2 separate regions of the Homo sapiens genome follow, and region 1 is linked to region 2. The links are contacts of gene promoters, found by promoter capture Hi-C in human tissues and cell types (Jung and others, 2019). All regions are on one chromosome and are shown on one strand. Each heading gives the region's core, a stretch centred on a gene start or on the middle of the fragment in contact. The rest is flanking DNA. Distances are from core to core; before and after follow the strand shown. Region 1 holds the start of LOC124901145 (a long non-coding RNA gene). Region 2 holds the start of PFN3 (profilin 3).

Region 1 (3,246 bases), core at 116-2,615, 420 kb before region 2:
ACATATCAAGAGACTTAAGAACATTCACGTGTTTTTCCTCTCACTTTCTAGACACATGAAAACTAAGATTTACAATTGATTTAGATGATTCAAATAGTTCCAAAATGCCACTTTGGATTACTATATTATAAAACTGAAGAACTATGATCCATCCTCAACCAAGCAACAGGATTACTACCTTAAGTAATTCTTCATTCCATTTACAAATTAAAACAAAGCTGAGTAAAAATTTCATGGTTTTGGTGAGCTGGCATTAAGGTGAAGTCAGTCACGAAACAAACTCCCCATGGGTAAAGAAGCATAGTTTGAGAGCTACAGCTCTACTTTTCAGCTCTACTTCACTAACCTCTCCATCACTATCGGATATCACAATGAATGCATCCTCAAGTCTACGCTTCCTCTTCACACTGACAGAACTGGTAGTTTCCACATCCTTCTTCTCCAGGTTCCGAGATTCGGAGACTTCTTTAACTTTTTTCTTTCTCCGTGGCATCCTTTTGTCTAGAATAAAAGGACAATAATTTTGTCTAGAATAAAAAGATCATAATTTACTTAAAGTATAAGTTTTCTAGAAGCTATTCAACTTAGTCTTTTTTTGAGATGGTCTCGCTTTGTTGCCCAGGCTGGAGTGCAATGGCACGATCTTGGCTCACTGCAACCGCTGCCTCCCAGGTTCAAGCAATCCTCCTGCCTCAGCCTCCCGAGTAGCTGGGACCACAGGCACACGCCACCACACTGGCTAATTTTTGCATTTTTAGTACAGACAGAGTTTCACCATGTTGGCCAGGCTGGTCTCAAACTCCTCACTTCAGGTGATCCACCCGTGTCAGCCTCCCATAGTGCTGAGATTACAGACATGAGCCACCACATCCAGCCTAATTTTTGTATTTTTGTAGAGACTGGGTTTCACCATGTTGGCCAGGCTGGTATTGAACTCCTGACCTCAGGTCATCTGCCCGCCTTGGCCTCCCAAAGTGTTGGGGTTACAGGAGTGAGCCACCATGCCCAGCCTCAATTTAATCTTGTAAAAGAAAAAGATAACCCTATCTAACAGAAGCAAAACTGCATTTCTTAACTTGTCTACTACTCATTAAAAATATAGCCCTCTCCCTCTCCCCCTCCCCCTCCTCCTCTCCCTCCTTTCTTCAGTCTCCCTCTGTTGCTGATACTGCCACGATCTTGGCTCGCTGCAACCTCCCTGCCTCAGGCTCCCGTGATTCTCCTGCCTCGGCCTGCCAAGTGCCTGGGATTCCAGGCACGCACCGCCACTCCTGACTGGTTTTTGTATTTTTGGTGGAGACCGGGTTTCGCCATGTTGACCGGGCTGGTCTCCAGCTCCTGGCCTCGGGTGATCTGCCCGCCTCGGCCTCCCGAGGTGCTGGGATTGCAGACGGAGTCTCGCTCACTCAATGCTCAATGTTGCCCAGGCTGGAGTGCAGTGGCATGATCTCGGCTCGCTACAACCTCCACCTCCCAGCCGCCTGCCTTGGCCTCCCAAAGTGCTAAGATTACAGCCTCTGCCCGCCCGCCACCCCATCTAAGAAGTGAGCAGTGTCTCTGCCTGGCTGCCCATCGTCTAGGATGTGAGGAGCCCCTCTGCCCGGCCACCCCGTCTGGGAAGTCAGGAGCGCCTCTACCCGGCCGCCACCCCGTCTAGGAAGTGAGGAGCCCCTGCCTGGCCGCCCATCGTCTTGGATGTGAGGAGCGCCTCTGCCCGGCTGCCCCGTCTGGGAGGAAGTGAGGAGTGCCTCTGCCCGGCCGCCACCCCATCTGGGATGTGAGGAGCACCTCTGCCCGGCCACCCCATCTGGGAAGTGAGGAGTGCCTCTGCCCAGCCGCCCCGTCTGGGAGGAAGTGAGGAGCGCCTCTGCCCGGCCGCCCCGTCTGGGAAGTGAGGAGCGCCTCTGCCCGGCCGCCCCGTCTGGGAAGTGAGGAGTGCCTCTGCCCGGCCGCCCCGTCTGGGAAGTGAGGAGTGCCTCTGCCCGGCCGCCCTGTCTGGAAAGTGAGGAGTGCCTCTGCCCGGCCGCCCTGTCTGGGAAGTGAGGAGCGCCTCTGCCCGGCCGCCCCGAATGGGAAGTGAGGAGCGCCTCTGCCCGGCCGCCCCATCTGGAAAGTGAGGAGTGCCTCTGCCCGGCCGGCCCATCTGGGATGTGAGGAGCGCCTCTGCCGGCCGCCACCCCGTCTGGGAAATGGGGAGTGCCTCTGCCCGGCCGCCCCGTCTGGGAAGTGAGGAGTGCCTCTGCCCGGCCTCCCCGTCTGGGAAGTGAGGAGTGCCTCTGCCCGGCCGCCACCCCGTCTGGGAAGTGGGGAGCGCCTCTGCCCGGCTGCCTATCGTCTGGGATGTGAGGAGCGCCTCTGCCTGGCCGCCCCATCTAGGAGTGAGGAGTGCCTCTGCCTGGCCGCCCCATCTAGGAGTGAGGAGTGCCTCTGCCCGGCCGCCCCATCTGGGAGGTGTACCCAACAGCTCCGAAGAGACAGCGACCAACGAGAACAGGCCATGATGACGATGGCGGTTTTGTCAAAAAGAAAAGGGGGAAATGTGGGGAAAAGAAAGAGAGATCAGGTTGTTACTGTGCCTGTGTAGAAAGAAGTAGACATAGGAGACTCCATTTTGTTCTGTACTAAGAAAAATTCTTCTGCCTTGGGATGCTGTTAATCTATAACCTTACCCCCAACCCCGTGCTCTCTGAAACATGTGCTGTGTCAACTCAGGGTTAAATGGATTAAGGGCAGTGCAAGATGTGCTTTGTTAAAAAGATGCTTGAAGGCAGCATGCTTGTTAAGAGTCATCACCACTCCCTAATCTCAAGTACCCAGGGACACAAACACTGCGGAAGGCCACAGGGACCTCTGCCTAGGAAAACCAGAGACCTTTGTTCATGTGTTTATCTGCTGACCTTCTCTCCACTATTATCCTATGACCCTGCCACATCCCCCTCTCCAAGAAACACCCAAGAATGATCAATAAATACAAAAAATAAAAATATAGAGGAATTTTTTTTAGAAAAATATAGGGAAAAAATGGTTTTTTTTTCTATAGAGAGAAACATAGACTGGGCACAGTGGCTCATGCCTGTAATCCCAGCACTTTGGGAAGCTGAGGCAGGTGGATCATTTGACGTGAGGAGTTGGAGACTATCCTGGCCAACATGGTGAAACCCTGTCTCTACTAAAAATACAAACATTAGCCGGGCGTGGTAGCGCATGCCTGTAATCCCTGCTACTCAGGAGACTGAGGCAGGACAA
Region 2 (2,813 bases), core at 312-2,811:
GGAGGATTCTGCACCCCCACCCCCTGACCCCCACCTGGCTGAACTTCCTCTGGTCTCCCTCTGCCCTCTAAATTCACCCACCTCAGCCACACATCACTCCTTCCTGCTGGGATAAGATCAGGGCTCCAGAATAAGTGACAGGTGGGGTCTGCCATCAGGGCCGCTGGGGGAGGGGACGGGAAGGGTGGGGGTGGGCAAGAGAGGCCATGCCCTGGGCCCCAGCACATGGAGGGCAGGGACCAGACACCCTCCCTCCCACTTTTGTCCACTATCTTTGGGCAATAAACCAGGCCTCAAACTTACCCAAGCTTTTCAATTCCCCCTCCTCCATAGGTCACCCTGAAACTGAGGCCTGCAGAGTGAGACTCCCGGGTAGGGATGCCAGAGTTCCTCCCTCTAGTCCAGGGACTCCTGCGGGGCCTTTTCGAAGGCCTGGGGAAGGCAGGATGTAAGGTCTCAAACCCAATTGCGATGGTCTTGGACATGAGCCCTCTCAGTAGGCTCCCCTTGGAGGAATGTGGGCAGAGATGCAGAGGCCTGTGAGCCCCAGAACTGCTTTACAAGCCACCAAGCCCATCCTGTCACCCACTCACAACTTGCTAGTGCTTGAGGTATGAGTGGAGGGGGGAGGAGCAAATTGGCCTCCAGCCTGACACCCTGATGGGGAGAGGTGTTCGCGGGATGGGGAGGGGGCTCCCTTTACTTGTCCTGCCTAATGTGTGGGAATATCTCTGAGAAAGGACGCTAAGGCTGAAACAGACTTTGAGAAGCCCCCACCCTTGGACTCTTCCTCAGCTGCGGAGTCCCTAGGACCCTGGGAACGCGCCAAGGAGCAGCAGTCAGGCCAGGAGCCTCTGCAAGGCGTCCATGGGAGAGCAGGGTGTAGGGCACAGGGGCCTGGCAGCCTCTAGACTCAAAATCCCGGCTCCACCAGGTAACCGTCTTGCAAAGACCAGTTTCCTTATTTACAACTCCCCCCACCGCGCAAGTGGAGGAGGAGCCAGCCGCGCCCAGGTCACAGTTTATTTGGCCCGCGCTACCAGTGGGCGGCCTGGCTGGCCGGCTAGGCGCCCTGCATGCGCAGCCCGCGTATGAGTTCGTGCACCGTCTTGTTGAGGATGCCCCCATGTACGCCGCGTCGGCCCATTAGCACCAGGAGCGCGCGCGGCGCACGGCCCACGCACACGGCGCGCGCGTCCAGCCCCTTGGTGCGTGCGTCCAGCACGCCGTCACCCTCGGCCAGCAGGTGGTCGCGGATGACGCAGCAGCGGCGGCCCCCCACGCTCAGGCCCGCCTGCAGGAAGGTGTGCCTGTCCGGCCCCGTGAGCACGCCCACCTCCTGCGGCGAGATGGCCGCCAGCAGGCCCCCGGGCCGCGAAGCCCACACGCAGCTGTTGTCCGCATGGCCCACGATGGCCACGTCGTCGATGCGCTGGTCCCGCAGCACTGCACTGATGTAGACCTTCCAGTCGCCCATCGCGCTCCGAGTGCGCCCAGCCGCCTCGCACCTCTCGGGGAAATATAGAGGCGCCACGCGGGGAAGGCCTGCGGCGCTGTGAGGCAGGCTGGGCGGGGCTGTGACGTCACACAAGGCGCCGTCCCGGAGCGACCACCCAGGCTGGGGCACGTGGGGCGTGGGCGTTTAGTGCTGTCGCAGTTCTAAGGTTATCCTGTAGGATGGGTTTGGCAGAGCGCAGCGGCTCACTCCTGTAATCCCAGCGCTTTGGGAGGCCGAGGCGGGCGGATCGCTTGAACTCAGTAGCGAGATTATAGTAAACTATTATAGGATCGTGTCGCTGCACGCCAGCCTGAGCCACAGAGCGAGGCCCCGTCTCTAAAAAAGCAAAAACAAATTTTAATTAAAAAAAATTTTTTTGAGATGAGGTCTCACTATGTTGCCCAGGCGGGTCAGGAAGTCTTGAGCTCAAACAATCCTCCCGCCTCAGCCTCTCAAAGTGACGAGATTACAGGCGTGAACCACCGCATCTGGCCAATCTATTTTTAATTTTAAAAAGCTGGTTTTGTGAAAAAAGGATGTTGTGTCTGGACAGCCAGACCTTCACTTGTAAGGGAACCAACCATTCAACCCCCAGATTGTGGTTCTTAAGCATGAGAGAACATCAGAATCCCCCGCAAGGCTGTTAAACAGATTGCTGGGCCCCACCCCAGACTTTCTGTTCAGCAGTATAAAGTGTAGCCCGAGAATTTGTTATGTGTAACAAGTTCCCTGGTGATGGTACTGCTAGCCAAGGGACTCTCAGACCCACTACACTAGTGCGTGTTGGGGTGGGGACAACGATATGTCACCCAGCCCTTAGGGTCCACGCCACAGTCAATGCTCTTTTTTTCTATTTTCTTTTTTCTTTTCTTTCTGTCTCTCTCTTTCCCTCCCTCTGTTCCTTCCTTCCTTCCTTCCTGCCGGTTCAAGTGATTCTCCTGCCTCAGCCTCCTGAGTAGCTGGGACTACAGGCGCACGCCGCCGTGCCCGGCTAATTTCTTGTATTTTAGTAGAGACGGGGTTTCATCGTGTTGCCCAGGCTGGTTTCGAACTCCTGAGCAATCCACCTGCCTTGGCCTCTTAAAGTGCTAGGATTACAGGCGTGAGCCACCGCGCCCGGCCAATGCTAAGTATTTCTAACCACGATTCTCAACCTTGGCTGTACATGGAATTATCTGGGGAGTTTTACAAATATACCACTACCCATGCCCCATCCCTAGACATACTGATTTAATTGGTCTGAGGTGGAACTTGGGCATAGATTGGCTCAAAACGCTCCCCAAGTGATCTTAATGTATGGTCTGAGAACTACTGC

What was found. The method cuts DNA at HindIII sites, captures the fragments that hold promoters and counts their contacts. A contact is called where the count stands out against the background at its distance.
Region 1: a contact is called between a fragment that was not itself captured here and the fragment with the promoter of PFN3 in region 2, in 1 of the 25 tissues and cell types used here (dorsolateral prefrontal cortex).

What each region holds. Positions count from the first base shown.
Region 1 is chr5:176,982,123-176,985,368 of GRCh38, forward strand. UIMC1 (ubiquitin interaction motif containing 1) reads right to left here. Exons shown (of 15, transcript NM_001199298.2): 2 at 347-501. The coding sequence starts at 493. It overlaps LOC124901145 (a long non-coding RNA gene), which reads right to left and starts at 340. Exons shown (of 2, transcript XR_007059073.1): 1 at 1-340. RefSeq lists a silencer at 2,633-2,833. The HindIII fragment of the contact is 7,476 bases long and covers 1-3,246 here.
Region 2 is chr5:177,399,100-177,401,912 of GRCh38, forward strand. PFN3 (profilin 3) reads right to left here and starts at 1,562. Exons shown (of 1, transcript NM_001029886.3): 1 at 1,010-1,562. The coding sequence starts at 1,477. The coding sequence ends at 1,064. The HindIII fragment of the contact is 7,517 bases long and covers 1-2,813 here.